Linked DNA regions of Homo sapiens: region 1 is linked to region 2. Evidence: promoter capture Hi-C in human tissues and cell types (Jung and others, 2019). All regions are on one chromosome and are shown on one strand. The core of a region is centred on a gene start or on the middle of the fragment in contact, and the rest is flanking DNA. Distances in the headings are between cores, read along the strand shown.

Region 1 (5,539 bases), core at 2,316-4,815, 520 kb before region 2:
CATTGAAATTGAAAGTAATGGCCAAAACAGCAGTTACTTTGGCATCAACCTACTTTAGTCTAAAAAATTACTTGCTCTTCACTTACGTTTTACGTCGGAAGCAATTGCTTCAGGCAGTACATTAGAGTATAATTAAAATTATGTTTTTCTTAAGCTAAAGTTAGAGAAAAAAGTCAGTCAGCCAGAATGCATGTGATGTCACAGAGCAGTGGTTCCCAAAGCAAGGCCTGGGGACCCTTGGGTTCTCTGAAGCCCATTCAGGAGATTTGCAAGGTCAGAAATATTTTCATTTTGTTAAGCTGTAATTCGCGCTTTTCACTCTCTCTTTTTCTCAATTACACAGTGGAGTTTCCCACTATCTATTTGGAAGATTTGCATAACTTAGTGAACACAATATTTTCTTTATGAGCAGTGCATGGTACCACATCATGCATTGGTGAAAGAGCTATTCAAAGTGCAAGACTAACTACTTTTTTTTTAATTGTAAAAAAACATAGCATAAAATTTACTGTCCTAACCATTTTTAAGTGTACAGTTCAGTAGTGTGTTAAGTACATTCGCATTGTTGAAACAGATCTCCAGAACTACTTCATCTTACAAATCTGAAACTCTCTACCTATTAAACAAAACAACCTACCTTTCCTCCCATTCCCAGCCCCTGGCAACCACCATTCTACACTCTGTCTCTATGAATTTGACTATTCTAGATATCTCATAGAAGTGGAATCACACAGTATTTGTTTTGTGAGTAACTTATTTCACTTAGCATAATGTCCTCAAAGTTGGTTCATGTTGTAACGTGTGACAGGATTTCCTTTAAGGCTGAAAAGAACATTCCATTGTATCTATATACCACAGTTTGTTTATCTGTTCACCCATTAATGGACATTTGGATTGCTTCTACCTCTTGGTAGAATGTAAAATTGTACCATGTAAAATTGTGAATAGTGCTCCTGTAAACATGGATATGCAGATATTTCTTTGAGATCCTGCTTTCAGTTGTTTTGGATATAGGCACAGGAGTGGGATTGCTGGATCATATGGTAATTATAATTTTAATTTTAGTATCGTAATTCTAATTTCTTAGGTAGAACTACCATACTGTTTTCCACAGCAGTTGTACCATTTTCCAGTCCTACCTACAGTATACAAGGGTTCCAGTTCTCCATCCCTTAGTCAGCAGTTGCTATTTACTGTTTTTGTCATAGTGGTCATCCTGATGGGTGTGATACGATACCTCATTTTGTTTTGATTTGCATTTCTCTGATGATTAGTGATATTGAGCATCTTTTTATGTGCTTGTTGGCCACTTGTAAATCATCTTTGGGGAAATATCTACTCACATCCTTTGACCATTTTTTAATTAGGTTATTTTGATTTTTGTTGAGTTGTGAGAGTTCTTTATATGTTCTGGAGACATGAGTTTTAATGTAACAGTATGACAGATTTATTAATGGTTTCAGATTCTGCATTGTAACTAACCTTTAAGGAGCTAACTGTTGAATTCTGTGGTTTCATATAAGTATATCTAGAATTATCTGAAAGACGATTAGAATATTCTTTTCAGTATCATATCTTTGAGAGGCTGGATTTTATACCTGAACTGAAAGAGCAGATCATAACAGATTGAGTGCTAAAGCAGATATGAGAATCTACTTGTTCTTTTTAAAACCTAGACATTAGGAGATTTGCAAAAATGTAAAATTAAGCCACTCTTAATGTATTTTGATAGGAAATAGTTATTTTTAATTTAAAATGCATTGATATATAGGTATTTTTAAATAAATGTTTCTAGATTTGTTTTTCATTTTCTGAAGTAGTAAATATTGGTAGGCATTATCTATGTAAACAGATGCTTTTTTAGGTCTGTAGTAATTTCCATTTATGTTTTAATTTTTTTTTTAGAGACAGGATCTCGCTTTGTCACCCAGGCTGGAGTATAGTGGTGTGATCAGGGCTCACTGCTGTCTCAACACGTTGAGCTCAAACAGTCCTCCTGCCTCAGTCTCCTGAGTTGCTGGGACTACAGGCACTCACCACAGTACCCTGCTAATTTTTAACTTTTTGTAGAGATGAGATCTCATTATGTTGCCCAGGCTGGTCTCAAACTCCTGGCCTCAAGCAATCCTCCTGCCTGGGGCTCAAAGTGCTAGGATTATAGATGTGAGTCGCTGTGCCCAGCCAGTAATTTTTAAGAATGCACATGGAGTTCTGAGATCTAAGTCTGAGATCTACTGGCTTTAAGAAACTAGTGGGGTTTTTTTACTGTCATACACGGGGGGAATTCTGTGTAATTTTTTATTATTACTGCGTACTTAAAACCAGCCATACATGTTTAGGGTTTGCTGATAAAATTAAATAGCAATACATGTATCAAGAAAATCTCACTTTTTTGTTTCTTTTGATGTAACAGAAATAGAAGTTTGTTGAATGAGGAAAATAGGAGAGCTAATTGTTTGTTGTTGTTGTTTTTGTTGTTGTTAAGACAGGGCCTCACTCCCGTAGCCCAGGCTGGAGTGCAGTGGCGCCATCTTGTCTCACTGCAGCCTCGACCTCTGGGTTTAGGTGATTCACCACCTGAGCCTTCTCAGTAGCTGGGACTACAGGCCTGCACTGCCACACCTGGCTAATTTTTTGTATTTTTAGTAGAGACGGGGTTTTGTCATGTTGCCCAGGCTGGCCTCAAACTTCTGGGCTCAAGTGATTCGCCCGCCTTGGACTCCCAAAGTGCTAGGATTACAGGCGTGAGCCACCGTGCTTGTCTCTAATTGTTTGTTTGTTTGTTTGTTTGTTTTTTAAAGATAATTGTTTAAATTTGGTATAAAGACAGTTATCTAAAATTGTGGACTGGAGAAGTCTTAAAACCAATGGGATCCTTCATAGTTTTTCCAGTATTAAAAAGATGAAGGTGATAATTTTCACCACTTTTGAAAAATATTAAGGGCTAGGACCGTTAATCTATCATTTCAGAGACCTGAGCTCCCAACCACATGGGGTATCTGATTAAATCATACAAATACTGACCTGCTATGATCTAGGTATAAAACAAGAAAGGGAAGGTCTCTGCTTTCATGGGGATGTACAAGCAACTAACAAGTACACAAATAACATAAAGTGGGATAACTTTAGATCATGGTGAATGTTATTAAGAGGTAAAATTGGGTAATGTGACTGGGATTTGTGGGGCTACCTTGTTGGTCAGGAGAACTCCAAAAGGAACCGGCCTTCTGAAGGTATGGGGAAGAGCTTATCAGGCAGAGGAGAGTGTGTCCTAATGGGAGAGGAAGAAGAGCAGAGTAGAGAACGCATGAACAACAAGGAGGAAGATGGGAAACCTGAGGGCAGAGGCGTGAAGGCTTTTAGGGCTTGGGGGCTATGGTGAGCAGTTTGGTTGTTTTTCAAATTATAAAGGGAAGGCATGGGAACATTTTAGATCACACAATGTGGTATCAGTGACACAACGATTACTTTGGTTGCAGTGAAGAATAAGATTGTAGGAGCAAGAGAGTAAAAACCTATGCCTTAATAAAAAAATGGAAATAAGACTGAAGGAAAACAAACACCAATTTCTTTAAAAAAAAAAAACAAAAAAAAAACCCTCTGTGCCTTGAATAGCTTTTCTAAGTTTTAAATAAACGTTCTGTGGTTATGTAAGATGCTAATACAGGAGAAGCAAAGTGAACCGTATACAGGAACTCTACTATTTTTCCAGTTCTTCTGTAAGTCTGAAATTATCTCAAAATTTAACTGTTAAGTAAACAATAACAAACAGTATTTTATACCTTGAATGAACAATTAAAACTTTTGATTTGGGTACAGAACCAAGAGCAGATGAGTCCAGAAAAATAAAAAATCATATTTTTTTCAATTAACTGACTTGGGACAAAATACTTCTATTCTGTTGAATCCATCTCTGAGCTGGGGCCCAGTAGTTTGTCTTTGGTTTTTGTACTTTTTAAAGCTTTCCCAGATTCTGATGCTTGCTAATACGTTGCATGGACAAAATTTCAGGTGTAGCCTTCTTTAGTAAATTCAGTCTTCATAGTCGGTAATCAGCGAAACACTTTGTCAACTTTTTTTTTTTTTTTTTAATCCCCAGCGACATCTCGAATCAGCGATGCACACTTGGCAGACACAATGATTGGCAAAGCAGTGGAACATATGTTTGAGACAGAGGATGGTTCTAAAGATGAGTGGAGGGGAATGGTCTTAGCACGTGCACCTGTCATGAACACATGGTTTTACATTACCTATGAGAAAGACCCTGTCTTGTACATGTACCAACTCTTAGATGATTACAAAGAAGGCGACCTTCGCATTATGCCTGATTCCAGTAAGTATATATTGGCAACTTTTATATGTGATAATTAGAAGGGATTTGGACTTCAGTACAAGATATTTGATTGGCTCTTTTGCAGATACATTTTTATTTTTGGATATATGATTCTTTTAGTCATGCACAAACACAGCCTTTGAAATTTTTCATCCAGTTGTTATAAATGTTAGATAAGAAAATATTTGATAGTCAGTTCTGCTTGGCTTCTGTAATAAGATACAAGTTGTTTTATAATTATTAACACTACTACATATTACTTCTTGCTTTTATTTAAAAACATGATGGAATAGGGATCAGTAAAATACGTCCCCGTGTACCCTGCTCAGCTTTAACAGTTATCTCATCGCCTGTCTAGTTTTATCTGTTAGTCCCCCCAGTGCAATTATTTTGAATCTAATCCCAAGACATTGATTATTTCATCTGTAAATACTTGAACTTCAGAGCAGCGATCTTCAGCCTTTTTGTCACCGGGGACCAGTTTCATGGAAGACAGTTTTCTGTGGATTGGGGGTTGGGTGTGGATATGGTGGTTTTGGAGGCATTAGATTCCCATAAGGAACACACAACTTAGATTCTTCACATGCGTAGTTCACAATAAGGTTTGTGCTCCTGTGAGAATCTGATGCCTCTGCTGATCTGACAGGAGGCAGAGCTCAGACGGCAGTGCTCTCTTTGCCGCTGCTCACCTCCTGCTGTGCGGCGTGGCCCCAGGTGTCTGGGACTCCTGATTTAGAGAACATCAATTTCAGAAAACGATTGACTGCTAACTTTTCAGTAGCAAGTGGAGTACAGAGTCAGTGTTTAGACAGGTGATTTAGCTATTTCCACAACTAGTCTGTTCACACAGGTAAGGTAGAAGAGGATGTGACCTGGGCTAATTTCATTAGGCCTAGAAAACCTTTATTGTGGTTTTTGTTTTTGGACAGAGTCTTGCTCTGTTGCTCAGGCTGGGCTGGAGTGTAATGGTGTGGTCTTGGCTCACTGCAACCTCCGCCTCCCACGCTCAAGCGAGTCTTCTGCCCCAGCCTCCCAAGTGGCTGGGACTGCAGGCACCCACCGCCACACCTGGTTAATTTTTGTTTGTTTGTTTGTTTTGTTTTATATTTTAGAGATGGGGTTTCACCATGTTGGCCAAGGTGGTCTCAAACACTTGAGCTCAGGTAGTCCACCAGCCTTGGCCTCCCACAAGTGTTAGGATTACAG
Region 2 (5,359 bases), core at 2,473-4,972:
TCAGGACTTGAAGTGTCAAGCTCATGTGTGCAAACTGTGACCAACACACATTTTCCTGAGAAGAGGCCTCAGACAAACAAAAAAATATCATGCATGCACATTTACTCAGATAATGACTGTCTGTTGCAGCCTTTACGCTAAACAGAGCTAAGAGTAGAGATAGTGCAGATTAACTCAGACCCAGAAACTTGGGGAGGCACCCTGGGATCCTGGAAGCAGATGCTGGGAGGGCAGAGGGGACCGAGAAAGGAGGTGCATTTACTCAGCTCTTCTGAGACAATTCTGCTCTCCTGCGGTGCACTCGTTCTGCTGGAGAAAGGGCTCACTTTGAGTTTGAATCTTAAAACTGCATGTCCTTTAACCACACTGTACCTGCTCACCAGGCTGTGGACACTAAATTGTTGGGAAAGTGAATATATTTCATTTTTTTAATTAAAAAAGCATGTAAGGTTATATTACATAATTGTGATATATAATACATTTATTCAAATCATATTTAAGTTTGGGGCCACATGATTTTCAAAAGTATACAGATATAACTCATAGTATCTTTCAATTTTATTCCCATAAGCCTAGATTTGATTTAAAGTCTAAGCGCAAAGGTAGAGAAATTTTTTAGTTGTTTAGTACCTGCCATTTTATTTTTCTCCAACTTTTTATTATGGAAAAAGTTCAAAGATACAAAGAAGGAGAACAGATTGTACAACCCCTTCCCTAAATCCACCACGTAGAACCAATAATCACCAACCTTTTGTCATATCAGCTTATGTGCACGTACTGTGCTGAACAATTTAAAATAAGTTTTAGACATGAAGACATTTTACCCTTTAATACTTCAGCAGCACCTCCTAAAATTAAAGCCATTCTCCTAAACAAACATTATGCCATTATCACACCTAAAAACATTAACAATAATTCTATACTATCAGTCAATATCCCCTCCAATTTGTAATTTCCTCCAAAATGTTTTTGTGTGCGTGTGTGTGTGCTGATTTGTCCAGCTGGGAGTCAATCCGGATTTGTACTTATTGTTATACTTCTTCTTTTCAGCTGTTCTTATACCAGAAGAATCCTTCACCCCTTTTTCTTGACATTGATTTTTTTTGGAAGAGCTCAGGACTGCAGAATGCCCACACTCTGGTAGTCCAGTTTTTCCCATGGTGTCATTTAACTCATGGCTCAAACTCTTCCATTTCCTGTAAACTTGCAGTAAAGTCTAGAGGCTTTGCAATTGATTCAATTGAAGCATCTTTGGCAAGCACACAGCAACAATGATGTTGTGTGTTTCTTTTGCATCACATAATGCCAGGTTGAGCCAGTATTAGTGACACTGAGTTTGATCTTCCTGTAAGGTACAGCCAGATGTCTCCATAAAAAAATGGAAAATGGAAAACCTTTTTCTTTTTTTTTTCCAATTAGCACCCGTTCGCCTGCACACTTTCACCTAAGGGTTTGACACCCACTAGTGCACACTGCCTGATTTAATTATTTCATTAAGGGTTACAGAATGGGGATTTCCTCATTCTCGCATTTCTACGTTTATGAGCTGGCATTCTTCTGTTAAACTGCTTTCACTTGTGAAACAGGATGCAGAGGAGGAGACTTATTCAACAGAATTGTAGGGAGGGCTGTTTCTCTCAAAAGGAGTGGTGAGAGAAGATGGTCTCTACCGGGGCATGGAGGGCTCCTTGTCAGAGTCTAGTGTCTGAGCTTTAAGGCCCAGGAAGAGGGCAGCAGATGGGGGTGGGGCAGTGGGTGAGTGAGAGGCCCGTGTGTGGGGAGACCCACTGAGGACAGGGATCTTTAGGCAAACGGAGCCTCACTGAAAGAGGAATTTCAGTGATGCCATGGGTCAGATCCTGGGTCTCTCTTAGGGAAACCTGCCATAAAGCATGAGAGCCACATTACTCCTCAGGGCTTCTGGGCTCCGATTCCGCAGACTAGTTTTGGAGGCATCACCACGCCTCAAGGTTGCTCTGTTATATCAGGGTAACTGACTTTCTCTAGGAACGGAGACTTGGGTGCCCCTTAAAACAACCCTCAGCCAGTATCCTAGCAGTAAATTTTTCATCACGGGAAGCAACTAATTGAACAGAGGTGTGATGAACCTACTGACCACTTTGGTAATATAGACACAGTGGCCACAGTATGCTGTATTGTTATCCTGGTTGTGACCAATGCCAAAGGAGCATGTTTCCTTCTTTTCTTGACTTGATGCTGTAGGAGTCCAACAAAGGGAAGCACATTCAGGCCCACATGAAACTTGGGACAGAAGTGGCTTCTCAGAGCCGTGCACCAGGCACTTTGAACAAGTTGGAAGGCTACAGTGCCGGAAGACTCCACAGTAGCACAGGCGAAGTGGCTTAGGCGAAAACGCTGGGAAGTACCCCAGCTCCCGGGGGCCAGAGCCTCTAGGGCTGGCAGCCTCAGCAGGCAGAGTCACTTGCCTCCTTCAGCTCAATTGCTGAGGGCTTGCGTTTCTCTGCAGGGAACAGGAGTGCCGCCGACTTCCACTCTTGGTGCCCTTCACCGCTCAAACTGCACCCCAAATAAGCGTATGCACCCTGCTCCAAGAGAAGGATGCGCTGGGCTGATCCTCTGGAGGCAAGAGGGCAAAAGACAGAAAGTAACGAGCGGCCTTTGCACAAACTCAACTCTCTGCAGCGGCCCCTGCGGCCCAATCCTGCCGGCCCAGGAATGCACGGTCGGATAACAGGCCTCTCCTTGCTTTTTCGTCTTCTTCCTCCCGCTTCTCTCCTCTCTCCTTTTCCTCCTCCTCCTTTTTCTTTAATTTTCTCCTTTCTCCCCAAGCTTCTACAGTTGTTTCTGTGTTCGCTCAATCATGGCCTTTGGCATTGATTGAAAATTTGGCAGTTCCTTCTCTCGGAATTCTGTTTGAAGCCTTCATATGGATTTATTATTATTATTATTATTTTTGCCACACAAAAGGGGCAAATCCGCGTGAGGAAGGGGGTCGCATGGGGGTCGGCTGAGATCTGCTGGCTGCCGGTCTAGGAGGGGCGCTGCTCTGTGCCGGAGTGGGCTCTGGTGCACCAGCAGAGGCTGGGGGAGAGTGCTGCCCCCGCCTGGAGCCCAAGTCTCTGCGTGCCTGGGGGTAGAGCGCGGAGAGGGACCAGGCAGGCGCCGGAGGGGACCCGCGCGGAAAAGGAAGAAGCCCAAACAAAAACGCTGTCCGGCGCCAGGCGCCCACCTGCAAGCCCAAGCCGGTGCTCGGCCAGTTACAAAAGAAATGGTCAGGATCTGGACAACGATAATGATAGTATTAATCCTCCTATTAAGAATCGGCCCAAACAAACCCTCGCTGTCAGGGCGACAGGCGCCCGCCCAAGCCCAGACCTCGGACCTGGTTCCAAGCCTGTTCCCGCTGGGTCTCTGGGCGCCCGGTTTCTGCACCTGGAGCTCGCCCGATGAGGACAAGGTCTGGAGGCCGGCCTGGGAACAGGGGCCGAAGGGCGAGCCGGACCCTAGGGGATTGGTAGGGTCGGGGAGAAGGGGTCCAGGCTAGGGGCGGGCGGGGCGCACGGAGACCAGGCGGCTTGAGCGGGAGGTGGGGAGCTGGAGGAGTGCCGGGTTCGCGGGCGGGGGACGGGGAGAGGGGGGCGGGGAGAGGGGCGGGAGTCGGGGGCGGCGAGGGGAGGGGCGGAGCGCGGGTCCCGCCCCGGCGGGCCGCTGGAAAAGTTTAGTCTCTGACTCGCTCGGGCAGAGGCCGAGGAAGCCGGTTCCGGGGACGGGCAACAGGGACTCAGGGACCAGAAGGCGGCTGCAGGACGCGACCGAGCAGGACCCCAGGCCCGGGAACGACGTCGCGAGCGCTGAGACTGCCGGGCCTCCCAGCCCATCTGGCATTCGAGCGCAGGACCGGGCGCCCCGGCACCGCCGCGCGCCACCCGCTAGGATGCCGGTGGCCCCAGCGCCCTCAGCCGACGGAGGTGAGAGGCGGGCCCGGGCGGGGCGCGGAACCAGGGTGGGGGGCTGGGGGCCGAAGGACCCACCTTTCCAACAAAATCCCCACCGATCCCGGGCGCGACGGGGACTTGGGCGCGCCACGGCGGCCGGAGCGCTCCACATCAGCACCCCTCCCCCAGAGCCGCTGCAGGAACAGGGAGGAGGCCTTTTCCACCGCACCCGGAGCGTTTACAACGGGCTGGAGCTGAATACCTGGATGAAAGTGGAGAGGCTGTTCGTGGAGAAGTTCCATCAGTCGTTTTCCTTGGACAATTAACAAGTTAGGCTTCCACAGTGCCAGGGCCTGGGGATGCTGGACGTGGGAGAGGGTTGTGGTCGTTAGCCTGGGAAAATCATTCTTTTAAACAATATTCGCCGGAAAATTAGTTTTTTCCTAACATTTCTCAAACAAGGCAATTAGGGCCGTCAGAATCGGTGCTGGAAGACGAAGTCCCCACAGTGCAATAATGAGGTTCCCACGGAAAATCAGTACGTTGTGTTCGTAACTGAGATAACAGCTAGAGAAGGGGCTTTGGGCTTTTTGAGTCTCCCAATAGTCAGTCTCTCTCTCTCTCTCTCTCTCTCTCTTCCTCTGACTTTCTGGCTTTGGACACTCCCAATGGTATATTTCTTTGTGGTGTTTTTATATTTGGATATAAGAGAGGAACTTCTTGTTGGATTTTTAAGGGAACACACTTCGTTTTGACCCTTCCAATAAGGAAAGGGGAGCTACAGGAACAGAGAGCTCTTTAGAAGGTTACTTTTAAATGGAGGCCCCCCCATTCATGGTACCCACTCCCACTTGGACCTCTGAGACCTCCAGAATTAGGCATCATTCTAAAATCTGGACATTAGAAGTCACAGACTTTGTATATAACCACATATTCATAATTTATCTTTTCAATGTTTTTTATTCATAGATGAAAATCTTGCAGGCATAGTTAAGAAAAATATAATTCCTAGAAAGTACAAGGGAAGGATTATGCTCTGCAGATACATGACTAACAAGGATAGCTGGCCATGCCCAGGGCTGGTGTTGGTTGAGGAGGTGGTGATGGTGCGGGGCATGTGTGTGTGTGTGTGTGTGTGCGCTTGAGGAGTTGTGGAAGTGTTCATATCTGTAAAGTATTATTTCATGGATGCAGACCTTAATGCTAGGTTGAATAACTTTGTTGCCATAGAAGAAGAACCGCACGTCAGGCTTTTTTCATTAGCAAACCAGTAAGCACTCACTTTGGGCCTCTGAAATCACTTCCATCACCTAACACCAGAGATACAAACTGAAGCTAGCCCTTAAGAGCCTCCCCCTAAGATTTAGAGAGAATGATTTCTCAACCAGTTTTCATCTTTGAAAGTGCCATTTCTCCCTTTATCATTGTGATTTTTATTCAAA

What was found. The method cuts DNA at HindIII sites, captures the fragments that hold promoters and counts their contacts. A contact is called where the count stands out against the background at its distance.
Region 1: a contact is called between a fragment that was not itself captured here and the fragment with the promoter of S1PR3 in region 2, in 2 of the 25 tissues and cell types used here (dorsolateral prefrontal cortex and spleen).

Annotation. Positions count from the first base shown.
Region 1 is chr9:88,464,273-88,469,811 of GRCh38, forward strand. It overlaps SPIN1 (spindlin 1), which reads left to right. Exons shown (of 6, transcript NM_006717.3): 5 at 4,100-4,333. Among named protein-coding and RNA genes, the nearest start is that of NXNL2, 68 kb to the right of the region's middle. The HindIII fragment of the contact is 5,445 bases long and covers 844-5,539 here.
Region 2 is chr9:88,987,746-88,993,104 of GRCh38, forward strand. It overlaps S1PR3 (sphingosine-1-phosphate receptor 3), which reads left to right and starts at 3,723. Exons shown (of 2, transcript NM_005226.4): 1 at 3,723-3,950. RefSeq lists a silencer at 3,269-3,563. The HindIII fragment of the contact is 13,055 bases long and covers 958-5,359 here.